Regions from separate parts of the Homo sapiens genome. Here all the other regions are linked to region 2. The links are contacts of gene promoters, found by promoter capture Hi-C in blood cells and fetal thymus (Javierre and others, 2016). All regions are on one chromosome and are shown on one strand. The core of a region is centred on a gene start or on the middle of the fragment in contact, and the rest is flanking DNA. Distances in the headings are between cores, read along the strand shown.

Region 1 (6,217 bases), core at 2,548-5,047, 74 kb before region 2:
TTGAAACTCACAAACTGATTCAAAAATTTATGTGCAAATGCTAAATACTTAGAATACCCAAAATAAATTCTAAAAAGAATAACAAAGTTGAAAACCTTGTCACGCCAGGTTTCAAAACTTACAATAATAAAGACAGTATGGTATGAGCATATGGATAGATATAATCATCAATGGACAGAATACAGATGCTAGTATTGGATTTATACATTTATGGGCAATTGACTTTCAGGAAAGATTTCAAAACCAATCAAGAGTGAAAGGACAGTCTTTTCTGCAAACGATGCTGCAACAAGAATATCAGCATAGGAAAAAAAAATATATCATGACCCCTACCTCACATGTGAGCCACTGCAGCATAATATGATTGCTTTTTCATTTCTCTACAACTTTTTGTTTCCCCTAGAGTTAATCTGTTTTGTCTGATTATATTTTTAGGTGTTCATTACTAATTCAACCATCAAATCTCTTCAAACTGGCAAAATGGTCTCACAAGACATTTCTCTTTTAGAACACCAAGTATTCTTTTAATTTTATCTTTTTCTACAAATCCCTCTTGCAGTTCTCTGATGTGTTGCATTTTGGACTGGTTGCCCTCTTTACCTTGGGCACAGCTGTCATCCTTTCCCCAGGGGCTTCTCTCCTGTGTTGGATCTCCTGTTTCCTTTATCCCATGATTCTCTGTTCTTTATTCCTTCATGTTGGTGGGGCACATCCTCCAATAGATTCCTGGGAGAGAATGCATGGAAGGTAAAAAAATTTTGAGGCCTCTCAGGTCTGAAAATGTCTTTTAGTGTACCGTCACACTTAACAGTTGAGCAGATACGGAATCCGAAGATGAAAATTAATTTCCTTCAGAAGTATCTTCTAGCTTGAAGTCTTGCTATTGAGAAATCTGAAACGATTCGGATTCCTTGTCTTTTACATGCGATCTGCTATTTTCCTCTGTGGAAGCTTGTAGAACTTCTTTGTCTTTGGTATTCTGGTATTTCCAAATAAAAAAGTTTGTGCTGGACACTTGATAGGCCCTTTCAATCTGAAAATGTGTTCTTTGGTTCTGGGAAATATTCTTCGATCATATTCTTGGATGATTACTTCCCCTCTGTATCACTGTGATCTCGTCCTAGAGTACTGATCTCTTCCTAGAGCACTTAATTGTTTGGTATTTGACGTCCTTGATTGATCCTCAGATGAACTTAATCTCTTCTCCCAAATATTTCATCTCTTTTGCTTTTTGTTTCACTAAAAGATCTTCTCAACTTCATCTTCCAATGCTTTCCTTCAGTTATTTTTGCTATTATATTTTAATTTTCAATGACAATGGTTACTGTTCACTGAATATTCTTCTTTATATCATCCTGTTCTTTTTTTTTTTTTTTTTTTTTCTTGAGGTAGTATCTTGCTCTATCACCCAGGCTGGAGTGCAGTGGCATGAACATGGCTCACTGTAGCTTCAACCTCCTGGGTTCAAGCGATCCTCCCACCTTAGCCTCCCGAGTAGCTGGGACTACAAGCATGTGCCACCACACTCAGCTAATTTTTCTTATTGTTATTAGAGATGAGGCCTCGCCATGTTACCCAGGCTGGTCTCAAACTCCTAACCTCAAACAATCCTCCCACCTCAGCCTCCCAAAATGTTGGGATTACAAGCATGAGCCACCATGTCCAAACCACCATCCTGTTTTTGTTTCATAGATACATTATCTTCTATTATTTCTGAAATAAAAATAATAATACTTCTGTTGAAGTTCTCATTTCCTTGTATAGTCTCTGGTTTCCATGGGAATCAATACAGAATGCCACATCAGTGCACCACCTATGTTCCCATATCTGCTGTTTCCACTAGTAGCTTTCTCAGAAATGCTGCACTAAAAGGACACATGAAAGCAGTCTAAGAAAAAACCAAGTAGCCTGTGCCTGTGTTTAGCAGCTAGGACCAAACGGGAACACTAAACTCTCTTGGTTTTTAAAATCTGGCTGTCTCTGCTTTTCAAAGATATTAAAGCTAAGAGAAACTTTCTGCAAAACAGGCACGTTTCATATTGTAGACTGAGAACAGGAGCTTGATTCAACTAGCTCCCTACTTGCATCTCCCAAGTTTCTTCAGATCATCTCAATATGCCACCTCACAGCATGGCCTCTGTAGACCCTGTGCCTGCAGGGTTGGGTTACATGTAAATGGCAGCTTCATGACCCTCTCTAGGCCTCTAGCAACATTGTGGTTTTCCTCTGTGTTAACACAACCACTGTAGATGGCCTCCAGAGACCAAAGACTTGCTTGACTCCGACCGACACAGGCAACTTCACAAATATTTATCTTGCGCTGCGCTGAGCAGATTCTCTGGCAAGACTAGGCCAGGATTCAGACTCCAAGACTCTCTGCTGCCTGCACTACAAAGTCTGGTGACCAGGAGACCAAGAAGAGGTTCTAGGAGATGTGATTAAGTCAACAAGAAACCAAAAAATTATTCCTGGCCTAATAACAATAACCACCTCAGCTAAAGATGTAACTTGGAGACCCTAAAGGGAGGTTGTCTTAGACCTCTGTAATCTGGATTTCTTTTTTCTGTAACTGTTGGAAAGTTTTGGTGCTTATCCTTAGACAATCTTTCATCTTTTCAATTCATGATCTTATCCAGTCTCGTGATGTTATAAATAACACACTATATGCTAACTGACACCAAAATCTGTATCTCCATACCAGAACCTCACCTGAAATCCAGACATGAACATTCATTCACCTGTCTACTCAATATCTCCACTTAGATTTCTAATAGGAATCTCATACTTAACATGTCTAAAACTGAGTTTCTGATCTTCTCAAATGTCTATTCCTGGTGCAGTCTTCCCCATTTCAGTTAATGGCCATTCTTTACTTTCAGGTGTTCAGTCAAAACCCTGCAGTCATCCTCAACTCTCTGTTTGTATGGTGGTTCATGAATAATAAAGTTCATGAATCTTTGCATGTGTGAAAATGTTTTATTATGCCTTTACATATTAATAAAATTGAGAGCTCTCCTTTCAAAGTTACGTTCCCTCAAAATTTGGGAAAATAAATTTCTCAGTTTATTTTCTGTAATTGTAAAATGAAAATACCGGTATTAATTTTAGTCTTGTTCTGTTGTATTCTAAATATTTATCTCTCACAAGCTTTTAGAGTTTTCTCTATTCTAGATGTTCTAAAATTTCACAATTATATAAACAAACATTGATCTTTTTCAGTCACCTTGCTTCACACTCACAGGGCCCTTCTAATCTAAGAGGAATTTTCTTCTATTAGTTCTTTGATTATTTCTTCCTATTCATTTTTAGTTCACTCCTCTGAGACTGCTCTCAGCAGAGATTAGAACCTGTGGATCTATGCTGCTTTTCCTTCATGCTTTCTATTTTTTCTCTTGTTGCATTATATTCTTCAATAAAAACCCACTCAGCACAAGCTTCCAATTTATCAATTTGCTCTTATAATGTGTCCATTTTGCTTTTCAGGCCATCTATAAGATTTTTCAAGACCTCTCTAATTTGTTCTTTTTATAAGGAAATATAATCTTTCTACATGAATATGACATTCCCTCTTTCCTTTCCGAAAGGTACCAATGATAGTTTTAAATGTCTTTCTGTTTTGTTTCCTGTGTTAGGATCTTCTATTTACTGAATTTTGTGCTTCTCTTTCATGATGTTGGTTTTCCTGAAATCTGTGTTAATTCTTGTTTTTGCACACCTTTACATGTGAGAATCCTGGTAATCTGCCTATAAATGCTATTTCTGTTTACTGCAAGATTCTCCTTTGTGACTGTAGCAAAGACATATTGCTGGACAGGTAATCTGCTAGGTATAGAAGCTCCTAGTTCCTCCAGAATGTTTCCATTAACCTTAAGGCTCTGATTCAAACTTATAATCACTGTTTTAATTAGAGGGCATCTGTCTCTGCTACATGGCACAAAAAAGGGGGTAGGCCTATAAGGCTGCTCTGACACCATACTTGACCCAACTACACTGATATTTTTCCTAGGATCCTGAAGCACTCCCATTCCTTTTTTTTTTTTAAGCAGTTTTCTCTTGAGCTGATCTAATGCTTCCTCCTTGAAATTGATTCCAATGTCCTTCTTGTCTTTCAGAGATTCCTCACACTTTCTGGTATTCCCAGGACACCCTTTTATTCATATCAAGCTTGCTAAAGTTATACTGTTTTTACCTTTAAAATCTTCTATTTTTTTTTCTTTTTTTACTTTCTAAGGACTTGAAGTAATTTTAGGTAATCTCTTAAGATTGAAATGACTTTCTTTGTAATTTCCCCAAATAACTTATTTTTCTGTAATGACAATTTAATAACTGGTCCTTTTAAGGTGACTTCATAACATCCCAAAGGGAAAAAAAAAAGAAAAGAAAAAGATAAACATCATGAAGCCAATCAAATTTACAATCCTTAGAGTCTTGGGCAATCCTGAAAGTCATTACTTCTGATGAAATAGTTCAATATGATTGTCTTCTTATGGAATGACTGGGGAACCAATTTCTAAAATATAACTAAATGTTCAAATCCATAAACAAAAATTTATATAGATTTTTCCCAAAGCTAATGTTAGGGTTTTCATTTACCTTTCCATTCACATTTCTTAAACTATATTAACTACATGAAATATTATATATATACAAATTATATATACACATTATATATGTTACATATACAATATATGTGTAACTATATAAATGTATAAACTATATTAACATTGAAATAGACCTAACTTTTTATTCATATAATATATATACATATCCACTGGATTAATTTTAAAAATCTAATGATAAATAAACAATGCATTGCCTTCTGAGATTTATTATAAATTCTCAGGTAAGAAAACTAAGAGACAGATTATTTTTTAAATTTTAGATATCTAAAACACATTTCAGCTTTCTCAAAATTTGATAGTAATGAACACAAGAGGTCTTTAAAATGGGTAATTAGAAAATAAAGTTTAAATTATACAAACATTAAAGAAAAGGCAAATTCCATAATAAAGTGGCAGATATTTGCATTAATCCCTAAGGTCACAAATAAAGTCCTTCAAAATACAAATGTGGCAGTCCTACCTATCCTAGTAGTTAATTCACTATACTGTAATTGTGTCGCTGGTGCTTATCAAAACAATAAAACCCATAGAATATTAAAAATAATAGATTTTTAGAGTTAGGAGGGGCTTTTCTTTTCTTTTCTTTTCTTTTTTTTGAGACGGAGTCTCGCTCTGTTGCCCAGGCTGGAGTGCTGTGGCACGATCTCGGCTCACTGCAAGCTCCGCCTTCCGGGTTCACGCCATTCTCCTGCCTCAGCCTCCCAAGTAGCTGGGACTATAGGTGCTCGCCACCACGCCTGCCTAATTTTTTGTATTTTTAGTAGAGACAGGGTTTCACTGTGTTAGCCAGGATGGTCTCGATCTCCTGACCTTGTGATCCGCCTGCCTCAGCCTCCCAAAGTGCTGGGATTACAGGCGTGAGCCACCGCGCCCGGCCAGGAGGGGCTTTTCAATAATACAATAGTTCAGAACAGACTATAGACTCAAAAGACATTTGAATTCCAAACCTCCTACCTACTACTCACAAGTTGATGACTCTGGACAAGTTATCTAAGCTCCTGTTTCCTTGAGTGTAAAATGGGAATATCAATACCAGCCTAAAATTGCTGTAAGGGCTCAAGAAATGAGCATTTATTATCTTCTGAACGAGGATTTCTCTGTCATTTTAACTCTTTTTAGTAAACATCTTCTCTCCTATTTTGTACTAGAAAATTAAGGTGAATTTCCTCCCACATGTAATATAAAATGTTTTTCTAATTTCATGCAACCCTATCCAAATCCATTACCTCTCTATTCTTAATTTCCTTAAGCAGTAAGCATCCCTGACCATGTCTTTCTCCTCGGATAAAACAACAACAAACTAAAGGCCAATCAGAGAGGTTACATGACTTTACAAAGATCATACAGCTAGTAAACAAAGCCAAGACGTGGCCCTGACTCCCAGTGCAGTGTTCTTTCCACCTTATATCTTAAAATAATACACATAATAAAATAATATAATCAGGTGAGGTTTGCACAGTCTTTTAAATTCACTTGCTCATATACATGGCAGCAAAAAACTATACAATTAAAACAAATCACTGTGAAGTTATTTTGAAGTATTTACCTTTCTACATGCAGGACAAAGCCCATTTTCATCAGTGCGAATTCGATGC
Region 2 (5,445 bases), core at 1,608-4,107:
AACTTTAAGCGATTCATGTTCAAAACCTTCTTACAGAAATAATCTATTGATCTCAAGAATTCAACTACTCAACCTGGCAGAAAGTATTCCAAATTATCAAAAGAAACCATGAAAATATGAAGCTTCAGTGTTCATAACGTTAGATCAAAAAACTAAAACCAAGCAAAACTATTTAGAAATCTCAGCTCCCTATTTCCTATCAAAATGTTAAAGAACTTTAGATATCTTCTTTAAACGTACTAAAGATACAAAAGTAAATTCCTTTTGACTTCAGAGGGCTGAAATGAAGAATTCAGTAACTGCGGGCAAAAATTATGGAGGGGAAAGAATTACTTGAGAAAATATTTCGTGAGACAAATACCTTTTTTTAAAAAAAAAGATGTATTAAAATCACTTACTCCCTTCTACCAGACAAACAATCCTCTCCTAGAACTCACTGCTTACAATTCAGCCAAGTATGACTGCCAAGAGTTTCTAAACCTGTGTTAGGATTTTTAAAAGTGGAAAGCTTCTCCACCAGTGTATTACAACAAAAAGTATATTTTTTAGAGTTAAAGATCAACTATTAAATACACTCCTACTGATAAACTAAATGTAAGTGATTAAAAAAAACCCAAAACTCAACTTGTAACTTAGCACAAAGTTTGCTATATAAATTGCTTGCAGTTCTAAGAGTAGGTATTTATTTGGTCCCCCAAATTGGGGCTTAAGTGGCTGAAAGAAAAAAGTTTTATAAACAGCTTTTCTAACCTTAGTTTACATTTGGTAAAACAGACCATTTATCACAATCAAGTGAACATAATGCCAAATGTTAAGATTCCAAATTTTACAGGTAAAATTTGTAAAAATTACAATAACCCAGTAATGGACTGCCACATGAGACTGTCACTGATTTTAAACATTTTTACATATATCTTAAGAATACAATGTCATGTAAGTCATGTTTAAACTTGGGATGTATGTATTTGAACTATGTAATCTTGGTTGCTTTTCTGGTAATTCTTTATCTCACAGTGGTCTGATTATAGCCAGGGCTGCTTCTTCCCATTTTACCATTAGTCAGTACATCTTAATTTTGCTTTCACCAAAACATGGACATCATAAGCCACCTCTTGCTTCCAGTTTTCTGCTTTTTACTGTAGATAACAATGACAGTGAGTTCCACCAAATGCATGTATGTGCACAGCTTTGTCATTCTTTTCCCAGCCCCCTTCTTTTCTATGAGAAAAATACGAGGAACTTAGGTTTATATAAAAATGTCGATTTTTCTTTTGCATACATAACTAATGGATTTTCAAGACAAGACAATTTATTCTGATAACTATCATCCTAGAAATGTCAAGAGAACTTCCCAAATCCAAAAATAAGAAGAAAATCTGATATTAACTGGAGAGGAAATTTCCACTCAAATCATAAATAAAATGTCATCAATTAAGCTGAACATCAATAAAACTCAGTCAAAAATCAAGCCTCAATACAGAACCCACACATAACCCACATGTAATCAAAATATCACTTATATTTGCTAGCGGAGTTCACAGATGAATTCTGTATGTGCGCCAGATTTATCTTATTTTGTAATGCTGGGGTTAATATTTATTGGTATAAATCAGGGCCCACACTAAGTGTCCTGGGGAGAGGCAATCCAAAGAACGCTTAGTAGCATGATAAAACCGGTCCAAAACGAAAAAAAAGAAAAAAAGCCAAGTCCTAACACAACAGAGCGAATAAGCGACAAATAGATCACAGAAAGCAAAACGAAAACGGTCCTCTCCGGAGTAGCCTGAATAAAAGATCTTCACTCATAACGTTTAATAGTATCCTACCTCACTTCATTCACTTCCCAACTTCCTTTTACTTTTCAAGGGCCACCACGGGGCTTCCCTTTTTCTGGAAGTGTATATTGAAAGGATCTGTACAGGAAAGAGGGAAGGAACGGACAATTCTCAAGAAGGCTGAGAAACAGGTGGGTTAGCAGGAGGAGCATAATCTAGATACTTAAGGGGCAGCTTTAAGATGACAGATGTGGTGGAAGGAAAGACTGCAAATCGGAAGCAGCTCTAGTGTGGCAGATACACTGTGGGCTGATTGCAAGCACCAGAGGGGGGCAAAGGCTAACTCCAGAGTGGTAGCAGTGGAGCAAAAAAACAAGCAGCAGGACGAGTGGGCAATGAGCAGTGGGATTAATGAGCAGCAGCAGCCAACACGGATCAGAGTGGAAGTGATGGCTTTGGTCTTGGGAGACGGGGGCCAGAGGGAAAGGACGTCAGACAGGGAACAGGGGATTGGGGAAACAAGGAGGGCTGAGACCTAAGAATCCTGCCCCGGTGAAAATGCAGGGGGAAAAGCTGGAGACCAAAAGCCGCCTCGGCTCCCCAATTAAAGAAATTCTCGAAGGAGAGTCGCTGCTTGCCGCCGCGCTGCCTTCTGACCCGCTCCCTTTTCCTTATGGTAACTGCTGTGGCGTAAAGGGGAGAGGGAGGAAGAGGAGGAGGAGGAAGAAGACCAAGGAGGAGGAGGGTGAAGATGAGGCGGGGGGTGGGGAGAAAGGGGGGTGCGGCCTGTACAGTCCCAGCGAAGCCTCCGCTCTCTCGTAGCCGGTCAGCCCCGGGTTTCCCCTAAGCCCAGCCCCGCATAGACTCACCCGCCTGCCTTGCCTCGCTTTTCCCTCAGCCGACTCCACGGGCTGCCGCGTCCTCACAAGAAACCACCGAACGAGCGTCGGGGAAAAAACTCTTCAGAACCGGGCCTGATTGCTTCAGCGAGTCCGACCTTTACGGCTGAGAGAGAGACTCTCAGCTTTCGGTGGGTTCCACAGCCAGACGGGCCACCATCTTACATTAGGGTAAGACTCCTCCGGCCTCCCGTGCGCAGGCGCACGCTGATCCGGCCAGGAGGGGCGGGGGAGGGGCGGGAGGAGCGGCGGGCGGCTGAGTGGGAGGTTGCGGTGGCCGCTCCCGCAGCACCCTGGGAGTTGAAGTCCTCGGAGGGTAACCTCCCAGGGGCACGCCGGGAGTTGAAGTCCTCTCTCAGAGGGCGGAGGGGATCGCCCACCTCACGTGGCTGCTGGACTGATGCCTTTCTTCGTGTTTTGCTTCCTTCTCTGCACGCGTGTGCTGCTTCAATGTCATTTGGTCGGCGGTTTTCACTAGTGATTCCGTGTCCTCGGTGTTTGCGGAAATGTGCTACCCCAAGACTGGGGCGAGGCTAAACAGTTTTTCGGGGAGCCCGGAATGTTTATTCTCTGCCCCGCCCACCAGGGATATCTAAAGGGGGCGGGGTGGAGGTGGAGGCAGGTTGTGGGTACGAAGAGCGCGGGATTTGATCCAGGGTGAGAATTTGATACAGACTTGGCGTCTGTTTGCGAACAAGGAGGAAACAGGCGCCTGTTTAATTCATTTCCCTGTCCTTGCGCATTTGGGGCCACCACCCTTGATCCCTTCTTCACTGTAAAATCACCAGTGAAGACATACACTAAATTGTTCTGTGCAGATTACCCAAGAGAACGGAACACCCGTGCACTTACAATAACGTGCTTCTGTTGGTGTGAATTTGAGAATTTGCGGACCTCGGTGCAAATTAGTGTTAGTTCGGTGTCCAGCCAGCACAGCTGTGTGCAAGTTTACAAACTACACACATCGGCACATCCCCAAGAACAATAAATGCAGCCACAATCCCTACGAGCACTGAGGAATCATCAGTCACAAAAGTCAGTCAATGTACTGGTCGCCCCGTTTGCATCCCAGAACTCTGGTGGAAGTGGCGCTCGAAGCAGTAACTTTTGCTTATTGCATGTATTCTTCACCCACTCATACAGCAAATACTCAATGAGCTCCTCCTAGCTGCCGGGTACTCTTCTATATATTGAGAATACAATGGTGAGCAAAATAGAAAAAATTCCCTGTCCCTATTCTAGTGATGTGTTGGGATGAGGAAGAGGAGAGAAGAGGCATTATTTTAAAAATACGTGATTAAAATGCATAGTATGTCATAACCGATTTTAAAAACTTAAAGCAGGGAAGGGGAGTAGGGAAAGAGGTTGCAGTTTTAAATTTACGAACTTAATTTCATAATAAGCCCTCAATTCATTGTTTTTTCTTTTTTTTTTTTTTTGAGACGGAGTCTAGCTCTGTCACCCAGGCTGGAGTGCAGTGGCGCGATCTCGGCTCACTGCGACCTCCGCCTGCCGGATTCAAGTGATTCTCCTGCCTCAGCCTCCCGAGTAGCTGGGATTACAGGCACGTGCCACCACGCCAGGCTAATTTTTATATTTTTAGTAGAGACAGGGTTTCACCATGTTGGTCAGCCTGGTCTCGAACTCCTGACCTCAGGTAATCTGCCTGCCTCGGCCTCCCAAAGTACTGGGATTACAGACGTGAGCCAGGGCACCCGGCCTCATTCTTTTGGTACATTGGTTTTCTGTGTTTCAGTTTCCTCACTATAAACCTAGAGACAACAGTTACTTGGGTAAAAATTAAAATATGTAGTGAAGTCACATTTTACCCAAAGTTTGAAATTATAGAATCATGAAATGATTACCTAGCAAGGAAACTTGGGAAATTATTTGGATTTCCCTTTAGGTAATTAAATGCCTAAACATTCAATATGGTTGACATTTTTATTTAAAAATGTGTTTATTGTTCTTGTATATATTACTGATTCTATAGTAGTATATAAACAAAGTAATGAAAAGAACAAAATAAAAAGAAGCCTTCCCATTATGAAAGATTAGAATCATCACAGTAAAAACTGGAAGGGATCTTAAGCATCACCTAATCCAGTGGCAACCTTATCTTACCCAACATTCCTTTTTTTAATAAATGTTTTTATAATATGCTCTTTGTTAGCCTAAAATGAAATTCATAGGTATATAAACTACCTATATACATGATTTCATCTGAAATCAAAATGATGTGCTATTTATAATATAAATGATATGAAGAAAATATTTTATAATAAAATTGTATTTCAATATATAAATGCTCAGCATGACCATTCTAGAAATACAGTCAAGTCATGGTTTGCTAGCACTTATAAATAAAATATCCAACACTAGGGGGCAATGCCACCCCTGTATTGAGACTGACAGTAAGGAGGTGACAGTTCCTAGGTCACCAATTGTAAGAGTCACTACCATCTCAGGCCAGTACTCCTTTTACTATACTACATTGCCAGTTTTCATATGTTTATGTATGCATATGTGTATATATATACTATCATATAGACTTATGTATGTAACACTTCATTCTCATATAATTTTAAAAGTTAACATTAAATTTGGCCAGGTGTGGTGACTCATGCCTGTAATCCTAGGACTTTGGGAGGCTGGGGCGGGAGAACTGTTTGAGGCTAGAAGTTCAAGGCTAGCCTGGGCAACCTAGGGAGACTCTGTCTCTACAAAGATAAAATTTGAAAAACAGCTGGGTATGGTGGTGCCTGCCTGTG
Region 3 (5,535 bases), core at 2,251-4,750, 130 kb before region 2:
CTTCCCTGTTAATTGTGGTAAATTACATGGAGAAAGAAACTTCTCCTTTGTCCAAAGAAAAAGAAACTGGTTAGAGGGGTGAACACAAGCTACCGGAAAGAGACTTATAATAGTCAATAGTTAAAACCTGAAAGCGTGTTATAAAACAAAGGTTGCAGGGCTTGTGTATTTGGAGATTATATAAAATCCTTATTTTAATAATATGCTTCGTTTCAATTAAATAGCCATCTACCATTTAAAATGCAGGTGAGGTCTTAGGAGTTTACATCTATCAACACTGGGCAGACTAGAAATCAAGATATGTTACACTTGTCTGGAACCAGGGGAAGACTATGGGTAGATTAATTAGTAAATGTTAACAGTTCAGAAGGAAAAAATTAGTAAATGTTAACAGTTTAGAAGGAAAAGGAAACATATCTGGTAGCAAATCTTACTCTAAATGGGGATTGGGGGGAGTAGGGTATGTGTGTGCCTATATGTGTATATATATATGTGTGTGTGTATATATATATCAGCCATCCATAATCATGAATTTTAATAGAAACTAACATTTTTAACAGAGAAAACCTAAGTGGAACTATGGCTGTAACCAAACATTCAGTTTAAGGCCAATGAAAAAACTTCCTACTTGGCTGATGAAGTCATAACCCAGGCAATCTTTTACCTTTAGCTGGATACTAAACATATAGATGTAATAAAGGAAAAAAATAAAAATATACAGTTGTCAGACTTCTTGCAAATGCCAACATATAACACGACAATGTTTTAGAACACCCCACTAAAGTTCTAGATCACTACTTTCTGTTCCATCAATACATTATTTCAGTATGCAAGTCTGATAACAGAGTGTAAATGCTAAGTGCAGTCCTTGGGCCAAGATCTCACTATATTAAGCAACAGTGCTAGGCTACAAAAGTTGATTGCAGATTTCTTGCATTTCTTCTTGGAGATAGTGATAGCATTATCATCTTTAAATCCTTGTGGAGCTCTCCCTGTTTCCTTATGCTGAAAACAACAACTTCCTTGATTGGGGAAAAAAAAAAAAACAAAAAAACCCAGCAGATATGCTATCATTCTATATGGTGTAACACAGAGTAGCTCTTCTTCAAAGATGAATCGGAGATCACATCTTTAGTGTGTATGTAATACATCTTGGTGCCATTACTATAAGTTTTTTTCCATTTTGTAATATTAGAGATGTCACCAGTCTAGTGGTTATGTGTGTTGTCCCCTAAATTCTCTTTGGTACTGCAGAAAAATCCTGGGTAAATTAAACTCCACCTCTGTTTTACTCTTTTAGTTCTGACACTGGTAATTTTGTAGTTAGCATAAGTTTATTTTAAGAGTACCTGCAAGGTTACAATTTTTTCCCCTGCTAAAGTTACTCCAAGATCACTGGGCCACATTTAACACAGGGCAGCTTTGAAAACCTACAGGATCTGTGACAACAGCTGCCAGCTGGTGGTCATTTTGAAAGCCTTCAAATTCATTGTTTGCAATGAATTCACAGTTGTAAGCCCTTGACTTGAGAGACCTACTGTAATTAAACTGTAAGACACAATAATGTTTAGAGGAGACAGATTCTGAATCTTAAAAGTTTTTTCCTCCACTGAGTTTCAAGCATGAAAGCACATTTACATGGTGAGGGCTAAAGAAACTTCAAATTGTTGTTAGAATGTGACTATAGACAAATCACAATCCTTCGGAGCCTTGTTTATTATCATCATTGTTATTATTCGGTCTTTAAAAGGATTGTTAAAGACTATGTTATATTTATTTATTCATAGCTCTGAAGTGTCATGATTCCAATACAAATCATTTTTAAGTTATCCTTTCCTTGGGTTTTCCCAAAGACTGTGTCATAGATGGGTATCTTAGCAGTGGGACTGGAATTTGATGAGGAAAAGCTATGAAATATTTGTTCAGAAAAAACATGACCAGGGTGAAGTGGGCACCAGTATTACAACCTTATTGCATTTAAATAGGGTCTTTGGTTCCTTCAAAAAAAAATTGGAGAAAGACAATAAAGATACAGCATTTATCCTGAAGATATGAATTGGAACACAGCAGGAATAAATACATGAATAGACATAGGTCAAGGTCACCAAAATGACATGAGACATCTTCCTCTACTACATTCATTAAGTGGAAGATTTAACTGAAAATTGCTTTATATAAAAACACACACACATTCAACCACACATGCATATAGAGGGCTAGGCTTATGGTTTACCTTTGCTAAACAAACTCTTACAGAAGGCTAATTAAATGTCATGAAGACAGTAAGACTATTACTAACATTTCAAAGCTATTTAGAGTTGCTTCAAACATTTTTACCACTCAGAAAAGCAAATCTCCTAAGTGTCTCTTGCCTAGAGCTCCTTGCACTGCCCCCCACTGCCTTTTTAAAAGGGTGTATACAAGTTGCTTGATTCACAAGCTTAAGTTGCAGTAGTACTGCTATGCAGAAATACGGAATATTTAAAGGTTTAACATTTGCCTTTCAGCCTACTGGGTAAAACACAGAGTCTAGAAGCAGCTATTACCACACAGCCCCAACAAGAAACAGACTAAAATTCTTACAGCAGAGTAGGTTACTTATTCTGCTATTTTACCATTGAGATAATTAAAGAATGGTACTGGGTCACTGCATCATACACTTTAAAATAATTAATTGAACGTTATGTGAATTTCACCCGCTATAAAAAAGAAAGAAAGGTAATGGATGCATTAAAGGCTTTATAAATTATATGAGGGGAAAAAGCATTTTGGGATGTTGCTTTGTAACAGCACAATAGTGGGTCTGAGCACCCAACAGGAGCTGGAATAACAAAATTGTTATAAGCACAGTATGTTCCAGGGTCAGCTTGGAGCTTCCAGGAACTCTTAGAATAAAGGTAAAGTGGGCTAAGACAGTGAAGTCAATAGTTGCCTTAGGAAGTGTGGTCAAGAGGAACCTGGAGAAAAGGAAATGGTTCTCAAGGTCAACAACTTCAAGCTGTTTTATGGAACATCTGGGTACTTCAGTCCATTTCTCAAGTAGCTTAGATTACTTAGGCTTGCTCTCAGTTCTAGGTACCTAAACTCGATTTCTCTATAACTCAAACCCAGAGAAGACTCTCTAAAAGACCAAAAAACAGAGTAGAATCTTCTTAATGCATCTCAAATTATCAAGAGTGATTCTTTGGAAATAGCCCCTGACTAAGAAGTGGAAGGCTAGTATGACCAGCAATGTTAGGTGGCTCGATTACAACTCACAGAAGCAAATCACAGGGTGATAAGGAGGTCCAAGGAGCAGTGGCTTCTCAATCCATCAACAAGGTTTCACAAACATAGTATTCTTGAGCAATGATTTGTACTTAGAAGCATTATCCTTTTTAAATGTCACAGTTGATATTTCAGCTGACATATACGGAGTGAGTTTAAAAATACTTTATTAGAAAACTAAGGTTGCTTCCAAACTAGGAATATTTATTATTAACTGACTAGGAGAAAAAAAAAAAACCACACAGTTGACTCCAGGTACCTGGGGTTTTCACATTTGTGGATTCAACCAACATCGAATAGAAAATTTTTTTAAAAAATTGTGTAATTTATTAAGCATGCAGTTTTCGTCAGTCTCTAAACAATATAACAACTATTTACATAGCACTTACATTGTAATAGGTATTAGAAGTAATCTAGAGATTATTTAAAATATACGGCCTCCCATATATGTGCAGGTCATATGCAAATACTACACTGTCTTATATCGAGGACTTGAGAATCCAAGAATTTTGCAATCTGTGGAACCAATCCCCTACAGATACCTAGGGATGACAGTATACGGTATCTTCACCCTGCTCTACTACCTCTTCAGCAATTTTTTCCTAGAGGTCACCTCCTAAGTATACAAAATATAAGAAACAAGGGTAAATTAGCCCAATAATTTGTAGATTTTATTTATTCATAGTACATTCTCTTTGGGGGAAATTATCAAAATATTTTTATAACCTGTTACAATAAAATTCTTACTTTATCTCTACTGTTCACCAGTACCTTAATTCTTATTTGATATATAAATAAAGCAGAATGACCTAATCCAACTATGTAAGAGCAGATGCTTTCCCTTCATAGGTGGAAGCCCATTTTTAAAAAAGCCTTCCAGTTTGCAAGTGAGCTTGGGAGAAGCTATATTACCTGTAATAAGGGCTCCTCAACTACCAAACTCATCATACACCATACCTAATCCCTCTGTCTAAATCTTTCACATCATCAGTAACATTTCTACCAATCCTTCACACTCACTGGGGCTGCTTACTTATAGCTGTCTCATCTCATCCCTGGCTTTTCCTGGTCCTCCCCAGCACTCTGCTTCCATGTCCTCCTACGATGCTTTGAGGAAGGAAGTTTTCCTTTGATCATTTTCAACTCACCGGAAACCTGACCCAGGATTCCCCAGGTGCCCATCTGCGGATGCATGGAATTGCTTCCATGCTTTCTACAATTCTCTCTCACATAGTTTGACTTCCTACACTCATGAAAAGACTGGAGGAGAGAGTATATAGACGGTTACAAAAGACAAGCTTCTTTCCAAACTCCAACCCTCTCCTTTCTCTGGTTCTCAATCATCATTTAGCATTGAGTGGTTATCACAGTGACCACAGTCTCCTAGTTATCATTCCCTTAGCAACACTAACATGTTCTTTGTCATCATCAAAATCTAAAATCATTCAACTCCCTTCCACATCACTCACACCATTTCTTCACAGGAAACTGCCTTAATAGACTCTTCTTGGCACAAGATTATACATTTCAATGTGGTCTTCTTGAATGTCTCTATGTCTTTGTCTTTTTCCCCTTTTAACCAAACACTCAATATTTGCTTTTTCCACTCCTATGCTTTGTGCTAAACCAGAGGAACATACAAAACCACATATATTTCAACTTTAGAGATCTTTAAGCTGACTCTTATCTTTACACAGCAACTAAGCAACTATTTACAATGCATTTCTGGGCTTATTCTCACAAAAGACTTTTTTTTTTAATCTCCTTTAAAAGGCTCCCAATTCCACTCTTTCACCCCCATTTTCAAACAATAATGCATTTTAATAATTACTGATATGAGCCATTTCATCAATTCTCATCTTTCTCTTTCCCCAGGTTCTTCTTGCTCTTACAAATCACAGAGGAAGATACAGCCCACCTCTCTCTCTCTCTTTTTTTTTTTTTTAGACGGAGTCTCGCTCTGTTGCCCAGGCTGGAGCACAGTGGCACCATCTCGGCTCACTGCAAGCTCCACCTCCTGGGTTCGCGCCATTCTCCTGCCTCAGCCTCCCGAGTAGCTGGGGCTACAGGTGCCCGCCACCACGCCCAGCTAATTTTTTTGTATTTTTAGTAGAGACGGGGTTTCACCGTGTTAGCCAGGATGGTCTCGATCTCCTGACCTTGTGATCTGCCTGCCTTGGCCTCCCAAAGTGTTGGGATTACAGGCGTGAGCCACCGCGCCTGGCCACCCACCTCTCTTAAGCTATACCACATGCTCGTCTCAGGAGC
Region 4 (6,011 bases), core at 2,947-5,446, 100 kb before region 2:
CTTCAAATATACATTAACATGTAAAGTATTACTTTGCTACTAAAACATGGCCACATCTAAGTGGCATAATTAGCTATTAACAGAACAAGAAGCTGGGTGTAGCACTACGTGCCTATAGTCCTAGTTGCTCAGGAGGCTGAGGCAGGAAGATCACTTGAGCTCGGGAATTAGAGGACAGCCTGGGCAACACAGCAAGATCCTCTCTCTTTAGAATAAATTAAAAAATAAAAAAATAAAATAAAAAGGTAAGAAAAATGTGCCTTATTAAACCTAGAACGATTGTAGTTGTGTAAATATGATTTTAATTAGAATTTTCTCATAACCCCATGACCTACTTAACATGAATGAAAATAAATGTTTTGATAACTATTAATAAGTACAAAGAATTAGTTTTTAATAATAAAGTCAAAATATGGACATCTACTAGCCTAAACATATCACAAAATGTGGTAACCTTCAAAAACAGCAAGTCTCCACTTATTCATAAATTCTGTATTTCAGTAATACACTTAATGTTTTTAAAAGATTTATATTTAAGTTAAACCTAAACACACTTCTTATTTGCTTTCATTCTAGTAAACAAGGGCACACACAACCCTATCTTTAACTGCCCCTTAACCCCACACTCATCCCACCCCACCCTCTGGAACAAATACTTTAGACAAGTGGTTCTAACTTCTTTTTTGACCATATTCTACTTAGGTGGGCCAAGATATCCCAGTTCACTTACTAGTTTTTCACTGCATATGCACATGTGCACTAACTCTGTATGTAGCCAAATACGACATAGGAAGAAAACTTTTCAAGAGAAATAAGGAAGATTCTGAGATATAAACTCAGAAAAACCTAGTAATCTGCTGATTTTAATGTAAATATAAAATCTTAGCAAACTTTAACTCACTCACTTAACTTACTAGTCCATTTCTCATGGCACCTGACCATAGTTTGAGAATCACTGCTTTATTCCACTCCTGAATTCACCTCTAATCTATCTAGAAGTATCAGCAGACCAGTGCCCTCTACACCAATATTTAATTGATAACTATTTTTAGGTCAGTTCTCTCTCTCAAAAGAATGTGCACAGATGCAAAATGTTACATAAAATTTCAGTGTTCACAAATATCCTGAGGCCTATTCATAATCTAACAATCTCTGCTTGAGACCTTTTTCTACAAATCTATGAACTATGTCTTTTCTAAATCTCAAGAGTTTTACCAAATAATTATGAGAATGGAATTCATGCAGTGACCATTCCCATTCTGCTGAACTAATAAGGTACTCTGACTATACCTTCAGTCTATCAGAGATTATACTTGATTTTCAGTAAGGATATAGCTGTATTTTTATTTTAAAAGATGTATACTCCTTCTCAAATGTAATAAAAATCGATAAATTCCTATAAAAGTTTCCCTTTCACCATTTCTCTAGCTAATCCATTACTGCCACCAATCTGTGGCTCAGGGAAAGTTTGCTAAAAATAACATCAATTCCTTGGAATTTACAATCCATCCACTACATCTGTCTTCAGATAACAAGCCTCAAGCACCAGATATTTTCAAGATCAAACTACATATAGTTATGGCACAGTTTCATTTAAGCAAATTTGATTTATGTTTTAAAAAGTTTTTCCTAAGAGCTGCTCTTAAGAATTTTACCTCTTCTAGACTGAAGAGTGGGAGAATGAGGGATGAGCTTGGGCTTTAAAGTCACAGAGACTTTGGTCAGAATCTTATCTACTGCTTATTTGTGTGGGATACTGGTAAACTGTTTAAACTCTCTGAGACTTAAGTTTTTTTACCCGTAGTAAGAAAACAATATATACCACACAGGCCTACTGAGGATATTAAATGAACACAGAAGACTCAAAACTTTTATTCCACCCTCGCTCCACCTAAATCTAAAGCCGAACATCTCCATTTCCTCAATGATGGCTTGTTTCAGCCACAATATCAAGTCATAACCATTTACACCGAGTGATCTGCATACCCCACAATTCTTGTAACTAGGCCTGCTCACTGTCTTGGGCACAGCAGCCTACCTAGTTACTATTCCTTTCACAGTTGGTACTTAAATAGCATCTCAATCTAAATGAAGATATTTCAAAGCCCCAAACTTAAAAATAATAAAATAGCCAGTCCTTAAGCATCATTACTGCAAGGCTTCATCACTTCCCACTCTCATTACTTGTATTCATCATTTCAAAGCAACTTATTCATAGCACATATATAGTTCAAAACTCATTAAGACTGATATACTCTCGAATTCATAATAATGAAGGGGAGCAGATGACAAATTCCTTTTTTAGAATTTTCTGCTCACTAGGTGAAATAAGAGTAAAATATATTATAGAAAAATTCACTTACTAACATATATGTGCATCGGGGACCATGTCAGGGTTCAGTGAGGATTAATAGCTATGGTAATCTTAAGATTTGTACTCTGGCTTAATTGAAAATAAGAGAAAATCACATTTTAAGCTTAGAGCCTCAATCTATAAGGTTCCAGGCTTTGCTTTCTTGCAATTCTTTCTGTAAAACTGCTACCCACTATCTAGGAATGCCAAGAAATGTGAAAATGAAACCCTTCTTTGAGTTTCTTTTTTTCCTAGAAAGTTTAAGTCTTAACTTACCTTGAAGATGAAGAAACCTATCTCTTGGGTATGACCTTGGAAAGAGTTACACTGCTCATCACTCTAATTTGGCAAGTCTTTCCTGTGAGAAATCTTATCTACAAATTCATCCCTACTACCTACTGCCTCTGTATGCCTACCCTGGGTGATGGCAATGTGGAAGTGGAAACCAAAGCAGACCTTTCGCTATGACTGACAGTCAGCCAAAGGCTTACTCTCTGTAACTTGGGCCATTAATTGTCACTTAATAAATTTAGGTAACCGCATTAAAACAGAAAACATCCCCACCCCCCACCCTCCCCCCCAAAAAAAGTTTCTATATCATGTACTTATGCAAAGCATGTACACCTATGTCAAAATTTGCTCTGGCCAGGCACAGTGGCTCATACCTATAATCCCAGCTCTTTGGGAGGCCAAGGCAGGCGAATCGCTTGAGCCCAGGAGTTTGAGACCAGCCTGGGCAACATGGTGAAACGCCATCTCTACAAAAAAAAAGAAAAATTAACTGGGTGTGTTGATGTGCACCTGTAGTTTCAGCTATTCAGAAGGCTGAGGTGGGATGATCGTTTGAGCCTGGGAGGTCAAGGCTGCAGTGAGCTACGATTACACCACTGTGCTCCAGCCCAGGTGACAGCAAGACTCTCAAAAATTTTTTTTTATTCTGGTCCCAGCTGAGGTTCTGTAGCACTGGCTTTGGGCAAAATTAGTAAATGAGTTTACTTGTTTTATATTTCCTCTTTTCCTCCTGTTTCCCCCTTTACAACTTGTGGCTCCTAGACATTCTCCTGCTACCAAAACAGTTATGAATGTGCTCTATGGACTACCTGACTATACTTTATAATAAAGGCAAAGTCAATAAAATGTTAGCAAATCTATTAATAACTGATTACAAAAATAAGTAAATAATATAGTTTGAATGTATGTCCCCACCAAATCTCCTGTTGAATTATAATCCCCAGTGTTGAAGGTGGGGCCTGGTGGGAGGCATTTGAATCATGGGGGTGGACGTCTCATGAATGGCTTGGGCCATCCCCTTGGTGATGAGTAAGCTCTTGCTCTGAGTTCACAGGAGATCTGGTCATTTAAAAGTGTGTGGTACCTTCCCCCTCCAACCCCCTCCCTCTTGCTATCGCTGTATATGATGTGCCTGCCTCCCGCTTTGCCCAGAAGCCAAGTGATGTCAGCACCATGCTTGTACAGCCTGCAGAACTGTGAGCCAAATGAATCTCTCTTCTTTATAAATTATCCAGTCTCAAGTATTTCTTTATAGCAATGCAAGAACAGACTAAACACAGTAAAAGCTAACTACTTGTTATAAATGCCAAAGATACTTTTGGTAAATTCCAATATTCATTTCCAATCTAAAGGAAAAAAGTCTCAATAAATGAGGAATAACAAGGTATTTCATATTGTGATTAAAAATACTTATCTCAAGTAAATGATCAAAATCATCCTTAAAGAGTAAATAAAACACTAGAGACATCCCCATGAAAGTAAGTATGAGGTAAAAACACCTGCTAGTGCTACCAGTCTAACACTGTTTTTGCACTGTTTAGCCTAAGCATTTTTCAAATAGAAAGAGGTGGTAGGAGATCCAATACAATAAAACAGGAAAAAGAAAATCTTTCCCGAAAGGCACAAGAGAGATATGCTATGCTAATGGTTGGGAGGAGTCAATGTTTGTTTTTGTTTTTTGTAGAGGCAGGGGTCTTGCTTTGTTGCCCAGGCTGCTCTCGAACTCCTGGCCTGAAGTGATCCGCCTGTCTCAGCCTCATGAAGTTCTGGGATTACAGGCATGTGCCACCAGGCCCGGCCTCAGTGTCACAGAATATAAATTCTTCCAATACTGATTTACAAATTCAATGTATTTTGAAACACAAATAATTGATCAACTGATTGGGGAAGTTCAGATCTCTGTAACTCATATAAAACTTTTAAACACACAAATAAAACATGGGAAACATAAACTCACAGTGCATAAAAAGTTCACTCTGTTAATCAAATACAAGTTAAAATGAGACAGCTTTTTTTGTTTATCAAATTGGCAAGTATGCAGAAGGCAAAAAAAAATACCCAATTCAAGGAAATAGGTACTCTCATATTCTGACTCAGCAGTTCTACTTGTAGGAACAATCAAAGCTATAACCATTTATATGTTACAACCATATAACATTTATATGTAAAGATGTTCATATCACAGTGTTATCAATAATATCAACAAAGTCAACATAACATACAATAGCAGAAGGTTGGCTTAATAAATTTAAAATATGAACATATAGTGAAATACTACATAGCCATAAAAAATTATGTTTTAGTGACATGGGGAAATTATTCATAATAATATGTATTAGGTTTTCAAATGTAACAAACCAAGGTACTCTGTGTATAATGGTTTATAGGCATTCGCAAGAAGAAAAAAGACTAAGAAAATACACAATGCAAGGAATTAGTGTATAAGAAAATACACTAACACTTTACAAATTTACATTTTACAATAATTTGTATTTATTCATGCATTCATCTTCCAACCTACTTACTGGGGTTCAGGGTTGCAGGTGGCCAGAGCTCATCCTAGCAAATCAGAGGGCAAGGCAGGAACCAACCTTGGCAGGGTCCCCTCACACACATAAACACTCACACTCACTCACAATGGGACAATTTGGACATGTCAATTCACTTAACGTGCACAGCTTTGGGATGTGGGAGGAAACCAGAGTGCCCAGAGGAAATCCACGCAGACATGGGGAGAACAGGCAAAGTCCACAGAGGCAGTGGCCCCAACTGGGAATCGATTTTTTTCTCATCAACATTGTAACAAAACAATACTGAATGAAATGATGTTATTGGAGGGCATGCTGTACACAAATCACTTTCAATGAAAAGCTCTGGGTATTAAGATCATATGCAATGTTTATTTTATTCTGTATGCTTTCATAAATTTTTCACATTTCCTTCAATAAAAACATATAGTTTTATATTCAGAAGACAACAAATGTTATCTCAAAGAGATCATCTAAATTTTAAATTTTTGCTCTGAAATCACCAAGGGCTATAAACCCAGAATTTGACTTAAATTAGAATGACAACATTTTTAATGCAAACAATGATGTGCATAAATGTTAAAAGCATCTAAAATAAACCACTGTTTACTACAATAACTTCATTCTTATACCAAGCACTACAGAGGTGGCAACGAATAAGATAAGTAATAGCATATGGTTTGCCATAAAATAACCATACAGGGCTAGAAAAGGGTGGGTACAAAAGATTAAAGGAAAAGATCAAAGCTTGTCAAACCAGAAAGATCTGTTTTGACTTAGCTTTTATTCTTAGCTTTGATATAAACAAATTTTACATAGTTTACTATACAGTAACTTTA

The links. Contacts are between HindIII fragments. The CHiCAGO score rates a contact against its expected background, and 5 or more counts as called.
Region 1: a contact is called between a fragment that was not itself captured here and the fragment with the promoter of CNOT4 in region 2, in 1 of 17 cell types (M1 macrophages). The highest score is 5.3, in M1 macrophages.
Region 3: a contact is called between a fragment that was not itself captured here and the fragment with the promoter of CNOT4 in region 2, in 1 of 17 cell types (M1 macrophages). The highest score is 5.1, in M1 macrophages.
Region 4: a contact is called between a fragment that was not itself captured here and the fragment with the promoter of CNOT4 in region 2, in 2 of 17 cell types (erythroblasts and M2 macrophages). The highest score is 6.3, in erythroblasts.

What each region holds. Positions count from the first base shown.
Region 1 is chr7:135,431,990-135,438,206 of GRCh38, forward strand. CNOT4 (CCR4-NOT transcription complex subunit 4) reads right to left here. Exons shown (of 12, transcript NM_001190850.2): 2 at 6,169-6,217. Among named protein-coding and RNA genes, the nearest start is that of CNOT4, 75 kb to the right of the region's middle. The HindIII fragment of the contact is 730 bases long and covers 3,433-4,162 here.
Region 2 is chr7:135,507,245-135,512,689 of GRCh38, forward strand. It overlaps CNOT4 (CCR4-NOT transcription complex subunit 4), which reads right to left and starts at 2,858. Exons shown (of 12, transcript NM_001190850.2): 1 at 2,645-2,858. RefSeq lists enhancers at 1,928-2,833, 2,604-2,803, 2,834-3,738, 3,114-3,233, 3,384-3,553 and a silencer at 2,804-3,043. The HindIII fragment of the contact is 7,472 bases long and covers 507-5,445 here.
Region 3 is chr7:135,379,092-135,384,626 of GRCh38, forward strand. All of the region lies in intron 10 of CNOT4 (CCR4-NOT transcription complex subunit 4), which reads right to left. Among named protein-coding and RNA genes, the nearest start is that of CNOT4, 130 kb to the right of the region's middle. RefSeq lists an enhancer at 1,225-1,805. The HindIII fragment of the contact is 2,125 bases long and covers 2,439-4,563 here.
Region 4 is chr7:135,403,382-135,409,392 of GRCh38, forward strand. The region is part of intron 7 of CNOT4 (CCR4-NOT transcription complex subunit 4); the gene reads right to left. Among named protein-coding and RNA genes, the nearest start is that of CNOT4, 100 kb to the right of the region's middle. The HindIII fragment of the contact is 3,442 bases long and covers 2,476-5,917 here.